Regions from separate parts of the Homo sapiens genome. Here all the other regions are linked to region 1. Evidence: promoter capture Hi-C in 16 types of primary human blood cells and fetal thymus (Javierre and others, 2016). All regions are on one chromosome and are shown on one strand. Each heading gives the region's core, a stretch centred on a gene start or on the middle of the fragment in contact. The rest is flanking DNA. Distances are from core to core; before and after follow the strand shown.

Evidence for each region. Contacts are between HindIII fragments. The CHiCAGO score rates a contact against its expected background, and 5 or more counts as called.
Region 2: a contact is called between a fragment that was not itself captured here and the fragment with the promoter of CD58 in region 1, in 2 of 17 cell types (erythroblasts and M1 macrophages). The highest score is 5.6, in erythroblasts.
Region 3: a contact is called between a fragment that was not itself captured here and the fragment with the promoter of CD58 in region 1, in 6 of 17 cell types (neutrophils, naive CD8 T cells, total CD8 T cells and 3 more). The highest score is 10.0, in neutrophils.
Region 4: a fragment that was not itself captured here is called in contact with the fragment with the promoter of CD58 in region 1 in 5 of 17 cell types (M2 macrophages, monocytes, M1 macrophages and 2 more); the score reaches 9.7 in M2 macrophages.
Region 5: a fragment that was not itself captured here is called in contact with the fragment with the promoter of CD58 in region 1 in 2 of 17 cell types (M1 macrophages and M0 macrophages); the score reaches 6.3 in M1 macrophages.
Region 6: a fragment that was not itself captured here is called in contact with the fragment with the promoter of CD58 in region 1 in 1 of 17 cell types (M0 macrophages); the score reaches 6.8 in M0 macrophages.
Region 7: a contact is called between a fragment that was not itself captured here and the fragment with the promoter of CD58 in region 1, in 1 of 17 cell types (M2 macrophages). The highest score is 6.5, in M2 macrophages.

What each region holds. Positions count from the first base shown.
Region 1 is chr1:116,569,225-116,572,680 of GRCh38, reverse strand. It overlaps CD58 (CD58 molecule), which reads left to right and starts at 1,655. Exons shown (of 6, transcript NM_001779.3): 1 at 1,655-1,778. The coding sequence starts at 1,709. It overlaps LOC124904385 (a long non-coding RNA gene), which reads right to left and starts at 1,706. Exons shown (of 2, transcript XR_007066497.1): 1 at 1,628-1,706. RefSeq lists silencers at 1,454-1,913, 1,984-2,053 and an enhancer at 2,524-2,583. The HindIII fragment of the contact is 6,609 bases long and covers 1-3,456 here.
Region 2 is chr1:117,036,883-117,040,338 of GRCh38, reverse strand. The region is part of intron 2 of CD101-AS1 (CD101 antisense RNA 1); the gene reads left to right. Among named protein-coding and RNA genes, the nearest start is that of CD101-AS1, 21 kb to the left of the region's middle. The HindIII fragment of the contact is 4,956 bases long and covers 1-3,456 here.
Region 3 is chr1:116,125,477-116,128,932 of GRCh38, reverse strand. MAB21L3 (mab-21 like 3) reads right to left here. Exons shown (of 8, transcript NM_152367.3): 6 at 1,289-1,467; 7 at 594-788. Among named protein-coding and RNA genes, the nearest start is that of MAB21L3, 16 kb to the right of the region's middle. The HindIII fragment of the contact is 7,397 bases long and covers 1-3,456 here.
Region 4 is chr1:117,004,668-117,008,123 of GRCh38, reverse strand. All of the region lies in intron 1 of CD101 (CD101 molecule), which reads right to left. Among named protein-coding and RNA genes, the nearest start is that of CD101, 4.6 kb to the right of the region's middle. The HindIII fragment of the contact is 3,226 bases long and covers 194-3,419 here.
Region 5 is chr1:116,946,145-116,949,600 of GRCh38, reverse strand. It overlaps PTGFRN (prostaglandin F2 receptor inhibitor), which reads right to left. Exons shown (of 9, transcript NM_020440.4): 4 at 29-409. Among named protein-coding and RNA genes, the nearest start is that of PTGFRN, 38 kb to the right of the region's middle. RefSeq lists a silencer at 2,168-2,368. The HindIII fragment of the contact is 546 bases long and covers 1,320-1,865 here.
Region 6 is chr1:116,927,642-116,931,097 of GRCh38, reverse strand. All of the region lies in intron 1 of PTGFRN (prostaglandin F2 receptor inhibitor), which reads right to left. Among named protein-coding and RNA genes, the nearest start is that of PTGFRN, 19 kb to the right of the region's middle. The HindIII fragment of the contact is 759 bases long and covers 1,564-2,322 here.
Region 7 is chr1:116,900,709-116,904,164 of GRCh38, reverse strand. No RefSeq gene overlaps it. Among named protein-coding and RNA genes, the nearest start is that of PTGFRN, 7.5 kb to the left of the region's middle. The HindIII fragment of the contact is 2,813 bases long and covers 248-3,060 here.

The DNA of each region.
Region 1 (3,456 bases), core at 406-2,905:
TGTATGAAGGGATAAGAGTAGAGGCATTGGACATGGCCTCAGCTGGACTCCAAGTTCTGCCCTTTACTGTGTGCCCTGAGTAATTTACCTTCCCCAGGCATCAGTTTCCTCATTTGCAAAAACAACAGCAGCAGTAAGACTAAGTTAATCCAAGCAATGCACTTCACACAGGGCCTGCTCAATAGATGTTTGCTGTCATATCACTTCCCAGCTCAAAAACTTTCTGTGGCTCCCCAGTGTCTGAAGGTCTAACCCCATCCTGCCTTTCTAAGTTGGCCTGAGTTCCTACCAGCCCAGGGCAGAGAACACTTGATTTCCTCATATTTTATGTTACACACTGCCCCTGCCTTGTGTTCCCAGTATCTACAGATGGTAGGGAATATCTCGAGATAGCAGGTTTGTGGTAGAGGGCATTGGTCCCAGAAGTTTCACTGATAGAGATACCTTTTAAGATTTTATGGCTAACTTAAGAAATAATTCATGTCTCTTTGCAATATGGTTCAAGTGTCTTGAGTGACTTCGAGTCCCCACCTGGGGATAATGGAGGTGAAGCAGCAAGAAAGCACATTCCCACTCAGTTTCACAACCTGCACCATGTATGTGTTGGTGGTTATTTGGGCAGCAGGGAGTCCTGTTCATGGAAATGGATTCCTGCTCACATAATAACTAAGAGTTCTGTGAACTCCCTCAGCTGGGCAGGGGCAACTCTGGTGCTTCTGTCTGCAAGAAAGGGGACAGACAGGGAGGCTGATGTGAGGAGCTGGTTCTGGGAATAGGGTCATTTGTTCTGGGATATAGGGATGTGAGGGGAGGGCCAGCTCAATCCAGACTGATGAAGAGCGGGGAGAGTGATGAGTGCCTGCCTCAGCTTGGGCTGGATGGATGTGGGGAGGCTGGGCAGTGAGGGAGATGTGGATCTGACATCTCAGCCTGAGGGAAAGTCCCGGTTGAGATGGGGGAAGACAGAAAAAGAGGAATCTGAGAAGGGAGAAACCAAAGGCTGGAAATCCCAGCTCCGGGGATAAGGGAGTATGGGGACGGGGGAGGCCTGCCTCAGGTAACCCTACGCCTAACAGTTGTCTAAAATGCTCCCTTTCCTTGTCATGTTTGAGGAAAAGTGGTTCAAAGAGGCCGTCTGATGCGGGATCACACAGCGCTGAAGGGATGAGGGGCCCCGGGTGCTCCCGCCCGTCCTGCTGCCTCCTCCGGTGGCTCTCTGGGAGCCACAGCCCCGTCTAGCCACGGAGGGGCCTACAGCACGCCCCAAACGCTAAGGGGAAGCGCGGGAGGTGCGGTAGGAAGGCAGAGAAACCTGGTTTTTAAAACCAAGCCATTTTCAAGGAAAGAATTTCTTACTTTAAAACCTTGGTTTTTAAAACCAAGCCATTTTCAAGGAAAGAATTTCTTACTTAAAAATAGCGTATGGAATGGCGGCGGAATGACGGGAGGGACCGAGCTGGGGGACTGGACGGCGCCCCGGGGACACAGGAAGGAGGCGCGCAGAGCCGAGGCCAGAGGCGCGCCCGGGGAGTGGAAGCGCGAAGACAAACGCGGCGCCGCGGAGGGTGGGGGAGGAAGGGCCGGGGCGGGCCGCCGGCTGCCAGCCCAGGGCGGGGCGGAGCCCTACTTCTGGCCGACCGCGTAGGCGGTGCTTGAACTTAGGGCTGCTTGTGGCTGGGCACTCGCGCAGAGGCCGGCCCGACGAGCCATGGTTGCTGGGAGCGACGCGGGGCGGGCCCTGGGGGTCCTCAGCGTGGTCTGCCTGCTGCACTGCTTTGGTGAGTGAAGCCTGCCCCAGGGGCCCCGCGCCGGCCGGCGGGTACTGGGCAGCACCCAGGCTGGGTGGACGCGCCGGGCTCGAGGCGGTTGCCGATCAGAGACGGGTGGGGACGGGTCGCTGTGGGCCGGGAACAACTCAGCCGTGGGAGCCTTTTCAGGAAGAGAAAGTTGTTATTTCATCGCCAGTGTCCCTCATGGAGTCAGCAAGGAACTGTGTGGCCTTAGGGAAGGACGGGCTCCGGCCCGCTAGCCTCTCCTGCGGGGCCTGCGCCCCCCCGCCGGCCCCCTCCCGAGCTCCAGTGACCAAGTTCCTTCCTGGGCTTCCCCAGTAACGTCGCTGAGCGCTTCAGCGGACTGCAAAATTTTTCCCAGCCGTGAACGCGCCCGGGACGGGGAGCGGGCGCGGATGCCACCTGCTCGAGGGCGACGCCTGCTGCCCTCCCCGCGCGGTGCCGTCCCCGCCCGCGCGGCGTCCGCCGTATCAGCAGAGAGGACTTTTCAGAATCGCCCCACAGCGAGGAGCGGGTAGGCAACTAGGAAGCCCAGTCGGCAGCGGCCTCACGTTGGGATTCCTAAGTGGTGCGACTCCTGCTCCTTTTTCCTCCCCTCAAATCCTAAAAACTAGTATCAGAACTGGTTCCATCCTCTCCGTGTGTTGTCAGCCAAGTCGTCACAACAACCTCAGGAAATAGGTCCCCTTCTTCCCATTTTGCCTCCCCATCCTCCTTCACCCTCCACACATTGGCCCCAGTCAGGCCATAGCAAAACCCCGGGAGTACAGCAGTAACCTCCCAGCGAGTTCAACTGTACTTGAGGGGTTCTCATGGCTGGCTCCTGCACCCCACTGCCAGCCCTCCAGCCCGTCCGTCCGTTTGCTCAGCGTCCGCTGCCTGCCCGGGAGGTGCGCGTGTGCATCTATGGAAGACAGCCAAGGGGGAGGGGTTGAGATAGACTCAAAAGTACCCGCACGATCAGATAAGTCAGTGTTGTAAGAGGCCTGGGCTGGGCGTGGTGGCTTACACCTGTCATCCTAGCACTTTGGGAGGCTGAGGCAGGTGGATCACTTGAGGCCAGGAATCGGAGACCAGCAGGGCCAACACGGTGAAAGATCGGCTCTACAAAAAATACAAAAATTAGCTGAGCGTGGTGGCGCATACCTATAGTCCCAGCTACTCGGAAGGCTGAGGTGGGAGAATCACCTGAGTCCCGGAGGCAGAGGATGCAGTGAGCTGTGATTGTGCCACTGAACTCCAGCCTGGGTGACAGAATATGACCTGTCTCAAAAAAAAAAAAAAAAAAAAAAGGTGAGCTGTGAGGGTACAGAGGGAAGAAGAAGGCAGTCTCTTTTGTGAAATCAAGTGTCTTTTGTGAAGCAGTCTTCATGGGAGGGAGGATATTTGAGCCCAGCCTTCAAGGACTGGTGATGTGTGGACATGTGATAATGTGGGAAAAGATTGCTGAGTGTCCCCTTAGGGAGTCTGGATTCTCTGAGCTGAGAGAGCTTCTCCTGGGCCTTACAGGATCAGGACCATGCGCCTGGGAAGAAGAATCTGTTAGCAACAAAGAGGAAGGCTGCAGTCAGGAGGAATTGGAGGCAGGGAGGCCAGAAGGCCAGGGTGGACTACCATCACAGGGCCCAAATAGCTCTGGGGAGTTCATGTGCGGGTGGCTGGGGAA
Region 2 (3,456 bases), core at 577-3,076, 470 kb before region 1:
AACACCTCCCAGCAGAGTGTGGTTTTGGGAGAGAGGAACCAAGATAAGATTATGGGAGCTCAAAATCTTATAATTACCAAAGGGCATGAGATGGGGTAGGGAGCTTTCTGAGATCTTGGTTTGCATCACAACTCTCTATATGAACATGATCCAGCCCAGAAGATGCAAACGAAAGAACAAACAGTATTGATTTTCCCTGGTATGTTATGTGGACACCCTTAGCAATAAACACATATTGAAGTCAATTGAGTGGGATGAACAGGATCACAAAAAAGGAGAAATTTTCCAAATGAAAGACACAAAATCAGGGGCATGTTTGGTAGACACCTGGGGAGTAATTACCTGGCAAGTAATTTGGTGTGGCTGGAGCACAAGGTACCCAGAAAGGGACTAGGGTGAGATAAGTCCACCAAGAATCCTATTGTTGAAAAGCCAGTTTAAAATGGAAGCACACACCCTCTCGGTTCCCTTGACAATGTGACCTTATAGGAGTAATAAATTTGGATTTTCCTATGCTGGTTATTTATACCATAGAAACTTCTTAATCACTGTCCTCATCCAATATAGTCTCTCGTCTCGGTAAATGGCTTAATGTGATAATTATGCTTCAACTCAAAACATCTCTATTTGGCAGTCAGAGCTGGTTCAGAAGGAGCCTTGGATTAAGAGACAATATGGTAGAAACTCCAAATTTCTAACAAGTAAATTAAATGTAAAGGTGAATAAATTTTTTAAAAAATGGAAAGCCAGTTAATATAATGAATGGATGGAACTGTCTCTTATCTCTAAACTTATCAGTAGAAAACTAGGTTAACGAGCATTTATTAGACACAAGAAGAGTCTCATCATGTGTCATTGTGTTTAATATACAGGAGCTACCTCTATGAGCTTGATACTTGAAACTTTCTGATAATTTTTTTCTATACTCAAAATGCTCACAAAATTGGTGTGATAGCCATTACACAAATTAAGAGAGTGAAGATGGTTTTCCAGCTGGCTTCCCTGCCTCACCTTTGTACCACTGCCATCCTCACTCCAACCCCACCTATCATCTATGCTGTTGCTTTTCAATTCTCCTTCCCTACTACATTACATTCACTGGCTCACTATTGTCCACCACATGAAGTCCAAGATATTATCCATGTTCAAGATCTGTTCTTCTGTCCTTCCCCAACCCCAGAATTTTGCTCTAACTACTTTTCCAGATTTATCTCCCATTGCTCCCCTTCATAGATCTGACACTTAACCCAAAGCTATTGTAAGCACTGCACTTTTCATGGGGCTTCCTCTGTCCAGACCTCTGCTTAACCCTTTTCCTGTCAAAATATTTTCTTATTTTTAAAGCCCAGTTCAACTTACATCTTCTTTATGAAGTTGTCTCTGATTTCTAAATGCCTGTAGCACTTTATTAGGAGTAAAAATTAATAGCCAGTTTGACAGAATTCCCACCTGAGCCTACAGGGAATGCAGACTTCTCAGGCTCTGTCTGCCAAGTGGTAGAGCTCCCCAACAGCACAATTGCATAACCTTCCTGCTGGAGGAAAAGAGGACCTGTGATGAGGAGGTTAGTGCAGAGGCTGCTGGGAACAGGCAATGGGAAATGGAGAGAATAGCATGAAGTCTTTCCCAGCCTGGCCGCAGACTTGCTGGTGTCTGGACTCTGGAGAAAGGAGATACTGGGCAAATGCTAATGGAACAGTTTTCACAAGAGAATCTTTAGAGACACGGGTGCAAACAATCTTGAATTTGTATCCTTACAGAAGAGTGTAATGTAAAGACAGAGAAAGAGTCCCTTTTCACTGCTTATCACTGAACACGACTCAGCTTGGCATCTCATGTGCTCTGGCATGCCAGCTGCGGTGGGAGCCCGCAGAGCCCAACGGAGCTGCAGGGAACCACATGGGAATGGACTTGCTTGTGAGCTCATGTGAATTCACAGAATCCGGGCCAGATGTGGTGGTGTGTACTTGTAGACCCAGCTACTTGGGAGGCTCTTGCAGGAGGATTACTTGAGCTCAGGAGCTCAATGCCAGCTTGAGCAATCTAGTGAGACCTCATCTCTTTAAAAAAAAATTTCCAGTTTTGGGAAATCCCCCAGAAATAGCTAAAGGACACTGTAGATGGCCAAGACCCTGTGTAAATATTCTGGGAGGGAAAGCCTGTAGAATTTGGATTATTACTATTGATTACATTTTATTTATGTACACGGACAGGTTAAGTCCTAGAAAAACTTGGGTTAATGCTGACATTCATTTATGACTTGATGTGGTTTTAAAACTTATCTCCATTGATGTATCTGATTTGATCACCATAACAACCACTCAAAGTGGCTATTATTATATCCAGATTTTCCCCCATAGCAATGGATTTGAGCATATTTTTTGTGTTTATTGTGGAAAGAGTGTTTATTGTGGAAAGAGTCCAGGACTTGTCAGCAGACCTAAGTTTGAGCTTTTACTCTTCTGCATATGGCTGGGTGATCCTGGATAAATCCCAACCTCTCTGAGCTATAATTCCTTACCTGTAGGACAGGAATAACAATTCCTTTTGTATAGAGATGCTGTAAAATTCTGAGATAATGAAAAAAATCCTGTACGATTGTAAGAAATTATTATGGCACATGACTTTATACCATTGCATTCATCTTCTGCCATAAATCGGTTTTTTCTATACATCTCAATACAATAAAAATAATTAACAGCAACCATGCCTTAATCATCCCTGTGTCATCTTATCTTGCACAGAGTAGGTACTCAGTATGATGGCGTGAAACGTTGCAGGGTGATAAACTTCCCATCTATAGTGTGAGGCCGGTACAGCGGAGTCAAACTTCAGAATGGCTGGGACTAGATGCCAATCCTGAAAACCTAAGATTATTTATTAGATTAATCAGATATAGAAGAGATTCAGATATAAGAGGTCAAATCAGTTTCCCAGGGACATAATACATGGCTAAGAGAGACAGAACATTAAAGGACAGCAGGGCTGGCAAATGTTTTCTGTAAAGGGCCAGAATAATAAACATTTTAGGCAATGTAGGTCCTATGGTCTCTGTGGCAACTACACAACTTTGCCATTTTTATCGTGAAAGCAGCCACAGACAGTATGTAAGCGAATGGGAGTGACCATATTCCAGTATATTGTATTTTAAAAAACAAACAGATGGTGGGCTGCATTTGGCCCATAGGCCCTGGTTGGTCAACTCCTGAGACAGAGGCTTGTCCTTTTGCCAAGGAAGATTTATAACACAAAAAGCCAAAAGTAAAACCAGGTGGTGGCATGAAATGGAAAAGCTGAAATCAATAAGTAAAAGTAAAGCTCTCCACTAAGTTTCAAAAACCAAAGGTAAACAGTATGTAATTGGAGAGAGAAGAGGTTTCACATAAAATGTCTGCTGAACTGGATCAGGGCAAATTTTATTCTGTAAATTTAAAAAGAAGAAAATACTGTGGGGGT
Region 3 (3,456 bases), core at 648-3,147, 440 kb after region 1:
AGGGCAAGGAGAGGCAGGGGCTGGCAGAGCAAGGGAAGATCCTTGCCTGGTGATTTGGACCCTGGAAAGAAGTGTGTGGCACTACGTGTGTGGTAACCTCTGTGTTGCATTTCCTGGTCCCCTCTGTGTTAGTGGGTCTGTGTGCATGAGGAGGTGTGCGTAGGCTGCAGTGGGTTTAAAGACTGGCGCAAACATAAAGCCATCAAAGTGTGAGGCACAAACCACATTTTGTGATTCATTTCTGAACCTCAGCAGGGTTTCTGGCACCTAGTGAGCACTCAGGTTGGTTTGGTGGGTAAAATAAAAGTGAGAGGGGAGGAAAAGTGGGATAGAAGAGAATTGGAAAAGGGAAGGGAGGGAGGAAATTTTACCCTGGGCAGGGGTGTTGTGGACTCCCATATGGTGCTAGTTTACATATTTCCATAATACGTAGTAATTTGTTGGATGGCAAATATAGATACTAGAACCTCATCCTGAATTTTTCACACATGCTACCCCTTCTGAGTGGCTCTGGCCAGGCCCTACAGAGGCCACAGGAAGAATGACCTATCCAAAGCTGCCCCTGGGTCTTCTCCAACCTGCCCCACACTCACCTGCAGATGGTGGGACGTGATAACCGGCCTGTTCCCTGGGCACCAGATGTCCTCCTTCAGGTGCCTCATGACCTGAAAACACTTCCTACGGCAGCCCCCATCTTCATCCAGCTGTTCCAGTAACACCTGCTCAGCACGGAGGAAGCTCAGCTGCCAGTGATAATTTGAACAGGCCAACAAGTTAAATCCAAACGACTGGAAGAAAGAGAAAAATATTGGGAAATAAGAAGAACAATGCTCACTGGTGTAGAAAGCCATTTCTGAAGCAGTCTGCTGGTCTGGGGAACTTGTCACCAGGCAGACAGCACATCCTACGTGGGGATGAGAAGGGGGTGCCAGGGAGACCACAAGCCACCTTGGATGTGGACAGTTAGAAGATGGTGCCCACTTCCTCTCCTACAGCAGTTCTCCAACTTGAGCATACATCAGAATCACATCACCCAGAGGGCTTCTTAAAACACAGATTGCTGGGCCCTGTTCACAGGGTCTCATTCAGCAGGTCCAGAGTGGGGGCTCGGGAAGCTGCATTTCTAACAAGTTCTCAGGTGACGCTGCTGCAGGGCCCACACTTTGAGAACTGCTGATCTAGTAACACCTCAACTTTCCTTCGGAAACTCATTGGCAGTCAGTAATGCTGTGACTGGTTAAGCTGTTGGCATCACTGCTCTGGCAAGCTGGGTCCCGCCCACTGATACCTTGATGCACTCCACTCTCTCTTGGGAAGGCCAGCGCTGCAGACATCGAGGCCACCGGGCTTTCTTGGACCAGGTGGTGGGGATCTCCACTGCGGGGACCAGCTCCAGTTCCACCTGATATGCAGATGTTTCCACAGCAACCCAAACTGCAGAGCGGTTTCCTAGCAGGCTGACCTTACCTGGTGGGAAATGACCAAATGGATAAGGAGAAGAGAAAGGTTTGCACATTACAAGCGTTCAAACAAGAAATTTGTGAGCAGTTGCTCTGACCAGCACCTTGCAACTGGTGTGGCAACTTTCACAATGTCTGTAGCACGTGAAGGATCACAATGCCTGTAGCACGTCAAGGTTTTGACATCAAAACCAGATGGTTAGTCAGCTAGCCAGCATCGGAACATTACTAAGAAGTCTCATTGCTGGTGAGTTTTTCTTTCTCCCCCAACCCCAAGGCATTTGGGGTACCTTTTCTTTTAAATTAATAGATTCTTTTCAGGAGGATCAACTGAAAGTAAAAGCCATAGAATAAAAAGAAAAAGTGTAGTATAGATGCTCCTTGACTTACGATGAGGTCACATCCTGATGAAGCTGAAAATATTCTAAGTTGAAAATGTATTAATACACCGAACCTACCAAACATCATAGCTTAGCCTACCCTACCTTAAAAGTGCTCAGAACACTTACATTAACTTACAGTTGGGCAAAATCATCTAACACAAAGCCTATTTTATAATAAAGTGTTGAATATCTCATGGAATTCATTGAATGGTTGTATGGGTACTCGAAGTATGGGTTCTACTAAACATGTATCACTTTCGCACCCTTGTAAAGTAAAAAAATCATATGTTGAGCCATGGCAAGTTGGGGAACTTCTGTATTTGCTACTGTAAAAATGAAACCTAACTATTTTTCTATATCCTTCTCCATTCCACCCAAATATCTAAATGTTGGTTTTCAGAGTAATGCAAACATAGGGAAGGCTAATGCCATTTTTTTTCCCTCTTCACCTAGATATTCTGACACTGGTTAGGGACAGCATCAGCCTCCTTATTTATGCATATGCCTTTGGTGAAATTTGGCTTCACCTTTCTTTTATCTGAGCCTCAGTCTCTTAGATGGTATTTGTTTTTACCATCCATTCAGCCAGCCGAGCCTCAGAGGTATCTATCATCAGAAACCCCTGTAACCACAAAATACATCAAAGCACGTCACAGCCACTGTTTCAGAGGATTGAGTGATTTGAAAGAAGTCTCCATTGCCTCGTTTTCCAACCAGGCAAAGAGAAGAAGAGAAAACTAACGCATCTAGTAGTTTTCCAGCTCACATACTATAATTTCCTCATTTCCAATTTGCTCCTTCTTCTTTCAAAAGGTACAGTTTTTGTTTGTTTGCCTTCATTGCAGATAAAGATAAGCAGTCTTGAATAGATCAGGATCTATTCATCCTTATTTGCTCATCCCAATTCTTGAAATAGATTGGAATCTATTATTTTGCATTTCCTTGCACAGAGAAGAAAATGGAAGCACATTAATTGTGTTAGGCTGTTCAAAAGGGAAACATTCCCTGGCCAGGGTGGGATAAAGGGCTTGTCTGCATCTCATCAGAGCTGCCCAGACAGGAACATGACAACTGGCACTTTAGCATTATTTACTAAAAGCGCCTCATAAACCTTGCCCATTCTGAATCTCTGCTTTGCACTTTCACCATGAATAATGTCGCACAGCATAAGAGGTGAGCCGATGCTGCAGCCAGCCTGCCGGCCCACACCCTGCCGGCCCACACCCTGCCCTGCAGCTGGCTCTGCTTATGAGGTGTGTGAACTTCAGAAGTGACTTAATCTCTCTAAGTCTCAGTTTCCTCATCTCTAAAACAGGTAGGAAAAGAATTCTTACTGTATTGTGTGGTTATGAGGATTAAATTAAATAACCCATGAAACTTATTCTACTTAGTAAAAAAATCTATTAAACATAAACTATTACCATTATGGAAATTTTCAGAACTATTCTGTCTAGACAAACAAATGTATGTATGAATACATCCTTTTATTTTCACACAGATGGAATCTCATATTGTTTAGCAGTTTGGTTTTTCACTTAACTATTTAGCACATGCATTTTTCATAGCTCTGTATGTATGCATGGGCATATGCCTGTTCTTTTTAAAGGCTGCAT
Region 4 (3,456 bases), core at 557-3,056, 440 kb before region 1:
ATATCATGCTTTTTTTGTAATAAGAATCTAGGAATACAAGTTAGACCACCTTAGAAAAATGTAAATTATTACTTACCAACAAGTTATACTACAGTGGCAGTTTAAGACACTTTTCAGTAATGTCGTCTTAGAGAAATGTGTGCACCAAGCTATGTGTGAAAGAATATGCACAGCTACACTGCTCATTAAAGCTTCAAACAAGAGACAACCCATATGTCCATCAACAGTAGGCTGGATAAACTGTGGTACAGTCATAAAGTGGAATGTTATATAGAAACAAAAATCAACAATTACAACTATTTGCAATAACATGAATGACTATGTTCAAAGCAAGATACAAAAACACTTCTGAATCCTTGTGACTATATACAGAATGATCGTACTGTTTATAAAGTTTAAAAACAGGTGAAACCACACTGTATTATTTAGTGATGCACACATAAAGGGCTGAAATCATTAGCAAAAAGGCAGGAAATGACCAGGCGAGGTGGCTCATGCCTGTAATCCTAGCTCTTTGGGAGGCCAAGGTGGGCAGATCACTTGAGGGCAGGAGTTTAAGACCAGCCTGGCCAACATGGTGAAACCCTGTCTCTACTAAAAATACAAAATTAGCCAGGCATGGTGGCAAGGTGCCTGTAATCCTAGCTATTCCAGAGGCTGAGGCAAGAAAATCGCTTGAACTCAGGAGGCAGAGGTTGCAGTGAGCCGAGATTGCGTCACTGTACTCCAGCCCGGGCAACTCCATCTCAAAAAGAAAAAAAAAAAAGCAAACTAGGAAGTGGTTATCATGAAAGTCAGGAAAGTGATTGCATGGTGTTTGTGATCTGATGGGGCACACTGCGGGCTGGGTGGGTGCTTCTAGGGTCTTGGCGATATTCTATTTCTTGACCTGGGTAGACATTATACAGATTTTACTTTGTGCTTATTTGTTAAACTGAAAATTTGTTTAACAAATTTTAAATTTATTTTAAAATTATTTTAAACAAATAATAAAAATTTTCTTATGTTGTATTTCACAATAAAAATATTTTCTTAATGTGGCTTTTGAGGTACCACTAACCCACATATATCAAGGCATGTTTCTACAAACAATGTTATTTTTGGTGGCTAGGCAACACTTCTCGAACGTTTCCCATCACTTTTCAGCAAGATGGGTACCACGTTTGAAAATTTTTATTGTGAAAACACGCACTTCTTTTTCTACTGCTTTATTTGCCAATTCAATAAATATTTATTCAACCACTTATAGTATTTCTCATGCTTGAGGGACTAAGATATGAAGATGAATTTAGGCTAGATTCTGACTTCTGGATTTCATAATCCAATCAAGTGGATAGTAGTCACCTCTCTATGGAAAACATATAATAAAAGTGCTTCAAAAATTTTGAAGAGGGACTACATTTTGAGGGGAGGGAAATAGGTTTATGGAGATGGCATAAGAGATGGCATTAGAAATGGATTTTGGAGAATTGGGAAGATTATGACAAGGTAAGTGGGGAGACAGAGCATTTTAGGTGAAGGAGATTTCATGGCAAGACTCTGAGTAGGAATCAAAAGACTTACTCAAAATTAAAGAGTAATCAACTGGATGGGGGAGGGCTGCATAAAGATTAATAGAAAGAGGTAAAACTGGACAGCAATTTTTGGGTCCAGAGCAGAAAGGACTTGACTATCACATTTAAAAGTTTGGACTTGATTCATTGGCAATGGGGAATCCACTGAAAGTGTTTAGGAGGTTTTAGGAAAATGAACCTCACAGTTTGTGTGCAGAATGATGGAAGTTAGAAATAGACAATCAGGTAATTGTAGGAGCTCAGGACAGAGGTGACAAAAGCAATAGGGATAAAAGTAAAGGTACTATAACTGAGCTACTGTGGAGACAAAATCTGTAGTTTTCAGTGCGTTGGATGCTTGGGAGTAGCAGGGTTAAATGGCGAGATGAGAGGTAGGAAGAAATCAAAGATCATAGGTTTGATAAGGCTGCCTGGGAGAATATTGATACTCTGACTAGAAATACAGATATTAGGAAGAGTTACTGTTGTGTGTATAAGGGTGAGTGAAAATATAATGCATTTAATTTTAGAAATACTAAATTTGAAGACCATGGAATAGACAGGAAGGATATCCAGCAAACATTTTGAAATATTTAAATATAGATATTTATATTTACATATAAATTATACATATTTTCAAAGGGTTAAATAGACTTTAACCCTTTGAAAATATTTGTAATCGAATCCTTTCAAAAACCCTGTGATATTCCCATATTTAGTTATGTAAAAACTCCTAGGATTTGAGCCAGACTTGAACATATTAATAGATCTGCAAATGCCAAATCCATGGCTGTCCCCATTGTTTCTTGTTGGCTCCTGTAAATGTCTGTTTGTAACTAGGGAGAGTTCTGAACTGTTAGATGTAGATTAGGTCAGTTACATACAAGTGTTGGGAAGTATTGGGGAACAGAAGGAAGAGGACTAAGGAGAGATTACTAGGGAATTTCTCTCTTTAGGGGATGGGATAAGGAACAAAACTTACAGAGGGAAGAGTTAGATGGAGGGCAACTAGGACACAGCGGCTGGAAATCAAGGGAAGAACATTCTAAGAGGAAAGGGCTTGTCAGCACTGCCAAAGGCTGCCAAGAGGTTGGGGACTCTGAAGGCAGAGGAGACTCCTGTTAGCTCGATGAGGAGGATGTCCATGAAGATCTTTGTAAAAGGGATTTCAATAGAGTGGAAGCAGCAGTTTTCAGGGTAAGAAGTGACTGCAGGAAGTGGAACCTACTTCCAGGAGTTTCATGGAGAAGGAAAAATGAAGATTAGGATGGCAGCTAGAAAGAGTAGCTAGGTGAGGAGCGGTAGGAAGGGGTGGGATGGAGAATGGGTGAAGCCAGCAAGGAGGATGAATGAAGTAATGTCCTAGTAGAGGGATGACAGGGAGGGTGCTGTGTTATAGTCTCAACGTCTGTGTCTTCCTAAAACTCACACGCAGAAACCTAATTTCCAAGGTGATGGTATTAGGAGATGGGGCATTTAGGAAGCAATTAGGTCATGAGGGCTGTGCTCTCATGAATGGGATTAATGCCCTTGTAAAAGAGTCCAGGAAGCTCGCTAGCCCCTTCTGCCACGTGAGGACACAGTTAGAAGGTGCTATGAGGAACAGGCCCTCACTGACACCAAACTGCCAGTGCCTTGATCTTAGACTTCCCAGCCTCCAAAACTAAATTTCTGTTGTTTATAAGCCCCCCTCCCCCACCCGCCCCAGTTTATGGTACTTTTGCTACAACACGCCAAACAGTCTAAGACATACTACTTTCTGAGAAAAGTGAAAGAAATAGTGTGGAGATTTCAAAGGTATTTTTCAGGTAGAAGGCATGACTGGCAGAGATCAACTCAAATGGCTATGCACTGGGGCCATAAGCTTAAGCATCTTACTATAAATATATTCTCTCTGGGTTTT
Region 5 (3,456 bases), core at 343-2,842, 380 kb before region 1:
GTTAAGAGTCATTCTCCAAACCACTCACCTAGCCAGGTCACACCCACACCAGCTGGGGAAGACACGGCCTCTGCCACTTTGTGCCAGCTCCTGTTGTGTCCGGGTGCCCACAGGGACACGTGGCAGTAATAGTAGCCAGAGTTTTCTTTGCTAACATCCCGAACCAGTAAATGGTAGGAGCGTGCATCCACATGACTCAAAGCAACATGAGGCGAGCTGTGCACCAGGGAATCACGGTCAAGCCGCGCCAACACGCGGGAGCCAGGTAGGGTGCTGTCAGGCATCCTGCTGAAGGACCACGTCACCTCGGGCCGGACGTCATCGGCTCGGTCTGTTGTGATGTTACAGGTCAGGTCCAGTTCCTTTCCTTCAGCCACAGACACATTCTTGGGCACAGCTGCTCGCAGAACTTGAAAATTAAAAACAAATACATCTAGGTAATCTGATTATGTTTGCCCCTTCTATTCTCCACCCTCTTTAAAGCATCTCCTTTTAAGTTCTTATTTACAGCATTAAAGTTAGAAGGCTTTGTACAGTTGTAAGTGCTTGAGAAATATTTAATGAATAAATTAACAGAACATACCACATTTCTTCTTATTTTATAAAAACAACAATAGCCGCAAACATTTACATATATCTGCTATATATGCCAGGCAGTGTTCTGAGTGCTTTACATATAATAATCCTCAAAACAACCCTAAGAGGCCTAATTTTACTGATGAGGAAATTGAAGCACAGAGAAGTTAAGTAACTTGCCCAAGGTCACACAGCTGATAGGTGGCAGAGATGGAATCCAAATCCAGGCTATCTGCCTTTAGAAACTCTGCTCTTCACTGTTATGCTATCTTTTGATAAGCAGTCTATTGAAGACTGTAAAACTAAAATTATACATTCTCCATGTGCATGATGAAACTTGGGTGATTTTACAGAAAAGGAAGACTTGCTTCTGACTGGTACATATTGTTAGCTGGGGGCTAGGCAATAAGGCAGCAGAAGTGAGGGTGAAACTGTCTAAGGGATAAAAGGGAAAAATCCTAAACAGAAGGGCCAGGAAAGTGAAACCAGACAATTTTCCTTGAGTCAAGTCTTCAAAATGTAATGTACTGAGAGTATAATTTATTTCTTAGACATTCCCACATAAAAGCCAATCATAAAACATATTCTAAAACTAAAACACGATGATTTTTGGATTATCTGCACTACTGTCCTTTCTCATTAGTGTGGATAATTAAAAGTAGACTATATTTAGATGAAGCACTGAAGTATTTGGTGTCACAGACTCAAGGCAGATCTAGTTCCAGCATTCCCCTGTCAAAGCTTTCACATGGAAACATTTTATTCTATTCAGAAGATTTTAAAAGAGCATCTGTAATCTGAGTAGAAAAACATCAACTTGTGAAATGTCCGGGAACAATTACTTAGATGACAAGTACCAAGCACTTCCCAGGGGATTCAAGCAGAGGCACAGCCCTGGCCTTCTAGCAAGTCGCTGGCATCAACGGCATGGCGCTGGCCCCAGTAAGCTCAGGGACCCAATTCAGAAAAGACCAACTCCAAAGCCCGTGCTCCTTGGCGTAAATTACTTTCATATGAATATGTCCAAAGCCTGACAATATTTCAAACAAATATTTCAAGTCAAGTTCAAGATCCAGCTAGACAGAAGACAGAAAATAAGGTGGGCACAGTATTAGAAAAGGCAATTTAAAAGTTCAATTTCTCCTTCCACCTAGTCTCCTAATTCTTTCTCTCGATCATCTCTTTAAAAGGGCCAAAAGTAGCCTGAGGGTATCATTTGTGAGGACTAAGTATGGAAACTGCTGCCCTGAGCCAGGCTCTGCAGTTTGAACCATTCTACAGTCAAAGCTTGTGGCCAGAAACCCTGGAATCCTGCTGGAGTCACCTCTGCCAGGACTTCAGCTACTGGAAGTAAAAGACGACTCAGGAGGGAGTCGGGTCAGTGACGAAGTACTTAACAAGCAGCTGTGGACTGTATGGATGGAGAAAACAGAGTCTCAGGTTCAGAAAATATTGGCAGGGATGTCTCTTCAGCTGTGTAGTTCACTTTGTAATTTTCTCTGTGCAAGTGGCTCAGTATCTTGTCACATCACTAACCAGAGGTCCCACACATTCTGGATTTGGGAGTTTACTGCTGAGAGACAGGATGGAGTAGGCTAAAGGGAAAAAAAGGACCAGTTCTAAGTATTTGTAATGAAAGAAGGGACCTCAGGCAAAGCCTGTGGTGGGGCAGGTTCTCTGTCCCTGAATATAACTAAATCCATAAATCAGACAAAGTTTGCAGCAACCAGACCACTCCCATGACAGGGAGGAGGGGCTGGGGAGGAGGCTCCCTGCCACATGGGTAGCACAGCTTCACTCTGCGCCATTTATCATAACAATGTGATAAGAATATATAAGCAGCCAGCTATGGATAGTGCAGGTGTGGACAAGAAGAGAAGGACCATCAGCCTAGTGTGACAGTTCTTAGCCTGGGATCCACAAAGAGAATTTAGAGTCTGTGAACTTGGATGGGAAAAAAACTCCATCTTTATTTTTATTAATCTGTACCTGAAATATAGCATCTCCTCCCACTGTGAAAGTAAGCAACAAACCAGTGTAGTATTACCTGTGTCTGGAACTACCCCAAATAGAAATCACATTACAGTTGCTGCAGATATCCTGAAATATCATGTATACTCATTACTATTCAGAAAGTACAGTTGTTAAGCCTGCCACTATCTTATTATCAATGCATTAATAAAGCAGCATATTACTACAAAATCAATTTGCTTTACAAGTATTTTGATAACGATTTCTATATAATTATTTTCCTTTGTCATCTTGTGTACTGTATTTTATGAATTAAAACATGTTAATTCTGAGAAAAGGTCTGTAGGTTTCAAAAGGCTGTCGAAAAGTCTCATGGCACAAAAAGATTATGAACCCTGTCTCATCTGAGAGCCAGATATTACCTGCCTAATAAGTTCAGTGTTCAAGTCTCTTAGCTAGATATTATAGGTCTCATGGTGTGTTTGAAACAAAAAATGTCTTTACAATTCAAATTCTTCCAAAAAAGCGTAAACTTTCTACACAGCTGAAACTCTTAAGAGTTGTTTGATGCAAGTTTAATATCTAGAGGTTTCTTAGGGCAGATTGCAGAGCGATCACTTCTGATCAGGAAGGTAACCTAAGTCCATCTGGAAAGCGATTTCTGCAGCCAGTGGAGCCCAGACTGACCAGTAATGAGCAGCTCCTCTCCTCAATGGCCATAGTCACTCAAGAACCTCAGACCTGCTTTTCCACCACCCACTTTTCCAAATCCAGGCTCTGTGCTGTGGTGTAAGTGCAGAGTAAAGAGCTCAGGACAATGCACCTTCAGAGACAAAATATTCCCCCTGCGTGTTGTTTCCTGCTTTCCTTCCCATCTGAGTAACAGAGCCACCACATATTCACATTCAT
Region 6 (3,456 bases), core at 694-3,193, 360 kb before region 1:
TTCCAATTTTGGATTTTTGAATTAAGGATGCTCAACCTGTATAAGGAAGGATATAAATAATCAAAGAGATGCACTAACAGGTGCCTCAGGGGTCAAAAGAGAATGAGGACATTTCCATCCAAAGGGATTCATAAAAAGCTTCATGCAGTGTCAATATTCGAATTTGGCCTTTGAAAAATGGTTGGATGAGGGGGAGGTTTAACAGAAGACATGAAGGAGGAAAGTGACCAGAGATAAGGGGTGTAGCATAAGCAAAGACCTAAAGGGGCCACGGGGGACACAGGCAGGTAGTGGTGAAGACAGGGTGACTAAAACAGTGTATCAAGAGCAGACTGGAGAGGAGACATGGAGGCCCAGAGATCATTCAGGGACCCTCTATCAATGGTGGGGAGAGGTAATAATAATGAAAACAAGGGCAATGACAGGAATCAAAAGGCAGCAGCTCTGAGAGCCACAACAGAGGAAGGGTCAACTGGTAGACCTGTGAGGGGAGACAGAAGCCAAAGGGAAGCTAATCACTGGTGAAATCTATTTTCTTATAGTAAGATTTTGACCAGTAGAAATGTCCACCGGACAGTTGGAATGGAAACCCCTAGAAGATATTTGAGCCTAACATCAATGTGGAGTCACATGCACGGAGGGAGTGGGGGGTAAAAAGGAAATCTGCCCAGCAGTGAAGACGTGGGAGTCGATGACACCATCGGGAGACAGATTACTGTATAGAAAAGAGGGAATGGGACAAAACCACAGCAAAGTCCTATGTTTAAGGCATGAGCAGAAGAAAAAGAGTCAGCACAGAAAAAAGAAATAGTAACCAGTTAGGAAGAAAACCAGGAAAGGCTTATGCCCTAGCAGCCAAGGGATGCAAGAATTTCAAGAAAGGGTTTGAAGTAACACTTACTGTTTCTTTATGAACATTACTCATCTACTTGCTCCTGGCAGACTGCAAGCTCCTTTAAAGCAGGAGCTGTTTCCTACCCATATCTGCATCCTGCACAATATCTAAAGCAGACTCCTACTATATGCCTTTGTTTGAAAAAAATGAACAACAATGTCAAACATGCAGAAAAGTCAAGGAAGGTGGGTGCTGAGAAAAGAGAAATGAACTGATGGCTAAGTAATCACTGGCAACCTCCAGGAAAGCGCATTTTCAATGACGGGTATGGGATCTGGAAAGTAAGAGCCAGGAGAGAAGGAACAAAGATGTAGGGAAGAGAAGGCACAACCATGAAAAAGGCACTGAAGCAGCAAGCAGGGGGTTCATCCTGCAAAGTCAGCCAGTCAGTCCCCCAAAGCACCTTCTAGGCACTGGGGACACATGGCCACCAGTCCCTGCCTGCAAGAAAACTGTGTTCTAGGAAAGAGACAGTGATGAAGTAGACCCACTGACAAATGCTATTCAGTTAAAATATGACAATATGAAGTGTGGTCAGGAAAGGCCTCTCTGAGAGGGTCATGTCTGAGTTTAGACCAGAATGACGAAGAGACAGTGATTGAAGCTCTGGGGCAAAACTGCTCCAGACACAGAACAGCAAATATAAAAGCACTGTGATGGAGCAAGCTTGGGTGTTTAAAGTACAGAAAAAAAAGATCACTGTGACTGATCACAATGAATGAGGGGGCAGGGGCCCTGGATTCTGGTTGAAATGGGAAGCACATCAACGAGAAAACGATAGAGCCTACTTTCTTTGTAGAAATTTCAGTCTGACTGCTGTGGGAAAGACAGATTATATGGGGCCAATTTGGAAGCAAGGACACCAGCATGGGGGAAGTTTCTGTAGACCAAGCAAAAGCTGATGAACACCGGCCTTGGTTGACAGTGGTGGTGACTCTCAGGAGTAGTCAGATTCAGGACTTAACTTGTGTATGAATGAAAAGACAAACTGACTTTTTGAATGTGGGGAATGAAGAAGAGAGCAATCAAGAATGATCTAGGCTTCTGGCTTGAGCATCTGGCATACAGGGTGATGCCACTTACTGAGACAGCAAAGTAATTAGAGGGAAGCAAATCTGTACCAAGGAAAGCAAGAGTTGTCTTCTGGTCATTTTAAATGTGAGGTCCCTATCAGACACCAAGTGGAAGTGCAGTGGAGTAGGCAGCTGGATGTTTAAGTCTGGAGCTCAGTGGGGAGGTCCAAGCTGGAGATACTCACTAGAGAGTCATCAGCACACACAGAGTATTTAAAGCCACAGGTTGCCTGGGGTCACTTGGGGAAAGAATACACATAGAGAGGAAAAAGAGCCAAAGATAGAGCCCTTACTTTTTTTCAGGTTAGACAGAGAAAAGGAGTAAAAATATTAAAAAGTTTTGAGGCAAAAGCTTGAGGTTTCTTTGGTCTCTATTGTCTCAGTAAAATAGTAGAAAGGAGTTCAGATGCTAAAGATCCTGACAAAGGTTTAGAATAAGCATCAGAAGAAATATAATAGGAAACCATCACAAAAGGAACACAAAGGAGAGCTGAGCTGCGGTAAAGATGCCAGGACTTTGCTGGAATCTCAGATGGGCAGACTTTGAGATTTTCCCCAGCAAGATAATAAAGTTCAGGCTTACAAACTACGATTGGTGTGAATTACTGAAATGTAATACAATGTGAGGTCTGGCAAAGAAATATGACAGAGGGTCCCAGGTTGTTAACAAGCTCACTGCTGAAATGCTGACCACCAGAGTCTACCCTGGATTCAGAGCCAAGTAAAGTGAGAATGGCCTGATGGACTGAAAAGGAAGAATGTTCAAAATCAGGGAATCACAATTAGGATGAAGAATAGGTTCAACAGATAGGAGGGAATCTGAAAGGAGTAAAGCAAGGAGGTTGTGGTCACAGAGGGAAATATCAGAATTGACAATCAAAAAGGTGAAAGAATACTAAGTGATGACAAGGCCCAGGTGTGGCCATTAAATCTCACAAAGTCTGTTATTTTTTCCAGGGGCTAAAATTATCATAGCAGGCACTCTCTGAGTCCTCGTTAGCCTGTGCCTGGCTACAGAAACACGAGGAAGGGGCAGTGTGACCAACAGGCCACAGGGGGTAAGAAGGGTGGTCCAGAGACTTAAATCTTGTTTCTAATTGACATTTACATGGCAGTTCTGGCTCTAATGTTATCTATCCTGCCATTTATATCTGGAAATCTTCTTTCAGCCTTCATACGCATGTTCTCCAAATCAAACAAGATTAGAAAGGAGGCGACAAAGACTTTGCATTTCATCAGTACTGACAGGCTCTTCAAAGTCAATGCAACTTTTCTTAGTTTTTGCTGCCAAGACAACCATTACCTCCTGCATCACACCTGTAATCCCAGCACTTTGGAAGGCTGAAGTGGGAAGATGGCTTGAAGCCAATAGTGCAAGACCAGCCTGGGCAACATAGATCTCGTCTCTATAAAAAAAAAAAAAATTTAATTAGCTGGGCATGGTGGCATGTGCCTATGGTCCTAGCTATTTGGGAGGCTGAGGCAGGA
Region 7 (3,456 bases), core at 405-2,904, 330 kb before region 1:
CCTCCCCATTAAAACACCGAAGGTCCACTTCTGAGTCACAGCTGGCTGTCCTGATGTGGCCCCACCTAGAAAAGTCATCATCTAGATGAGGATTTCAAACGTACTGCCCCTCAATATTTTTTTAAATGCTCAGCTGGGAAAAAATAGTATTTATGGAAGATTATTGAAGTAAATGCAGTCTGTACATTTTTCTAGACACCCAAAGATCTACCCCTAAGTTATGAATTAAGTAGAACATCAGTAAGCTTAGTACCTGGATATACCATATTGGCACCCTCATAAAGTTGCTTTTACTGAATTGCATTTTGTCATGATACCATCAGCCTATATTGAGGGATGTCCTAAGAAACAGCTTTGTGCACTTTGTCATTTTGTTTCCCAGAAGGACAGGTTTACAGATGCTCTTCGTTAAATCAGGCAGCAGCCTCTGCTTAGGATGCATGGAGGAATTTTACTCTCATCTCAGAACCACAAATAGTTGTGCTTTTCCTTAGTGACTAGTTTCTTTTTTCGTATGGAATCTGTAAATATTGTAACTGATAGTATTTTCCTTTTCATGGTAGTGATTGGGAAGGTTATGTTCAATTCTATGACCTCCCTCTAGCAAATGAATAAAACTTTTTTTTTTTTTTGAGACAGAGTCTTGTACTGTCACCCAAGTTGGACTGGAGTGCAGTAGTACGATCACAGCTCACTGCAGCCTCAACCTCCTGGGCTCAAGTGATCTTCCCACCTTAGCCTCCCAAGTAGCTAAGACTACAGACATGCACCACCATGCTCAGTTAATTTTTAAAAAAATTTTTTTGTAGAGACAGGGTCTCCCTGTATTGCCCAGGCTGGTCTTGAACTTGGGCTTCAAGCAATTCTCCTGCCTCAGCCTCCCAAAGTGTTGTGATTACAGGCATGAGCCACAGTGCCAAGCCTTGAAGAGGACTTATAGCATGAGTTTTGCATAACCTCTAGCATAACCTTCTAGCTCCTAGTTTTGCATAACTCTAGTTTTGCATAACCTTCTAACTCCTCCTTACCTTGCCATCATTATTTTCCCTTTCCCTCATTTACTGTTTTTTCATTTTCATTTCTTTTATTATGTTCATGCAGTTGCACAATGCAGCAACTCCTTCTTACTGTAAAATTCTAGTCCACTCCTCCTGCCCTTCAACAGACATTTTAAATTCTAACTCCTCATTTGCCGATTAAATGCAATGAGGTAATAATCACAATGAGCTCTGCTTCCAGGGAAAGACTGGAATGTGATGAGGCTGTGTCAGCCGCCCTAGAACTCAAGGCGGAGTGTGATGAGAAAGGGCACTGCCATCCACTAGAGTCACAGGAGCTCCTGAAAGGATGTTGTTTCCAAGAGCAGCAGATAGTTGACTCTCCTAACCCTAGAAAACTGCACTGCTCATCTGTCTGCACTGAGTTAGCAAATATTAGGGTTCATTTGCTTTCTCTAAGCACACAGTGGTTGAAGGCTGGAGTGGCCTGCGTGTCCAGGGCAGATGAATGGGAGTGTGCCCGATTCTATGCAGTCAACAGCTCAGGTGGTATGGTCCAGCCGGCACCAAGCCGCTTATGGCTCCTGTGTACTCTGCCATCTCCTGCTGTCCCCTCCCTCAGAAATGCGTTTCACATGTCACATGGCTACTCCTGTAGGTTGGGTTCCCTTGAAAGCAAAGCGTGAGACACTGATTTGGCTGTGAGTTCTTTATCTGGGAAGTTATCTCAAAAAGCAGTGTTGAGGGAATGGGAGAGCAAGTCAGGGAACAAGAGAAAGTCAATAAATATGTGTTATTGAGGTAAGCACAGCTGTGAACAAACTGTGTAGAATGTGCCTTTGAACTGTCCCTCAGGGGACAAGAGGCTCAGGTATTTACTCCCTGATTCTCCTGCCTCAACAGCTGAGCTTGGCCCCTACGGCATTCACTCCTCCTTGTCTCCCGTCTGTACCTGTCTGAGTCTAGAGCCCTGAAGCAAACAAGTGGAGAGACAGATATGTGTGAGGCGGGCCACTCCAGCATACTCTGAACTGTCCACATGGCTGCATGGAAACCCCAGGAGGGGCCGAGGGATACAGCTACTCATTACTCCCCCAAGAGTTCTCCCTGTTTCCCTAGCTGCTGTCTCCACCGTGTCCATGTCACCAGTTCTGCATCTGATGCTTGTTTCAGGGTTGTGTATCTGTCCTAGTTTATGTGTCTGTTTCCTCTACTAGAATGAAAGTAGAGGCTGTGTTCCCCTCAGCTTTGTTTCCCAGGCACCTAGCACAACGTTCGAAACATAGTAGGTCTGCTTAATAAATGCTTCAGCTATACTTAGAATACTTCTGCTTTGATCTCTTTTATATATTGGAGTGCCACATAAAATTTTGTTTGAGGAAAAAGTCATCCAAAACCACTGATCTAACCCAACCCCCTCATTTTACAGATGAAGCATCTGAGGCTCAGAGAACCTAAGTAACTTCTCCAATATCACACAGTATATTAAAGTGATTATGGAATATTAAAATGACTTCACAAAGTACATCAAATGCAGACAAGGGAGCCGACTGGAGTTACAATGTGAATTATTAGCACTTCAAATGGAGGTTTGTGCTAGATTTTCACCAGGAAATTGCTTAAAATAAAATAGCTTGGAAAGCTCCTGAGCTCTGATTAAAGAAGTGAATGGCTTGAGTGAGGCTTTCTTTTCTAGGGGAAGATATTCACCCACTGTAAACACATTTTCAGGTAATGTACCAAGAACTTTGAATCAGAATGAACTCATTTTGCATTCTCTTCCTCCAACCTGTTCATCTAACATGGCAGCTATAGGGATAGTAGCATTTTCATTTGTAATTTAAAAATGAAGTCTGGCATGTACTACCATCTCAATAAATTGTGTTAGGTTGATTGCCATTATTTTTAATTGCAAAAACCACACTTACTTTTGCACTGACCTAACAAAAGTCCTCTCCCAGACCTGCCCCTTTCCTGTGCTGCCTTCCTGCCCCTAGCCCATCCTTGTGCTGCAGCGTTTGGCACATGTGTGGCATACAGAATGCCAGGGACAGCCAAAGCTTATGATGAAAACCGAGAAAAACAGAAGCGTACCACTTCTCACTGTGTGCTAGTATTAAAAAAAAAGGTGAAATTTTTGATATTGGGGTGGGGGGTGGTGTCCTGTGAGTCGTGGGAACTAGTCATTCCTTCCCAGTGAGAAAGTTAGGATTTATTTGAACAGACATACTCATACGAAACCTTTCTTATTTGCCCAGACATGGGTCAACATTGCTCCAGAAAAGAGTGGCTGGTGTAACGTTTCCATGATCCTTGATGCCATGATGAAAAAGCACTTGGTGAGTGTGAGGCAGACACCTGTTCCTCATCTGTGTGGCCCATTCTCAAAGTGTTCCTTCTGACACTCATCTGAGCCAAACGATGAAGAGCGATTCAGTGAAATTTTTCATCAAGCAAT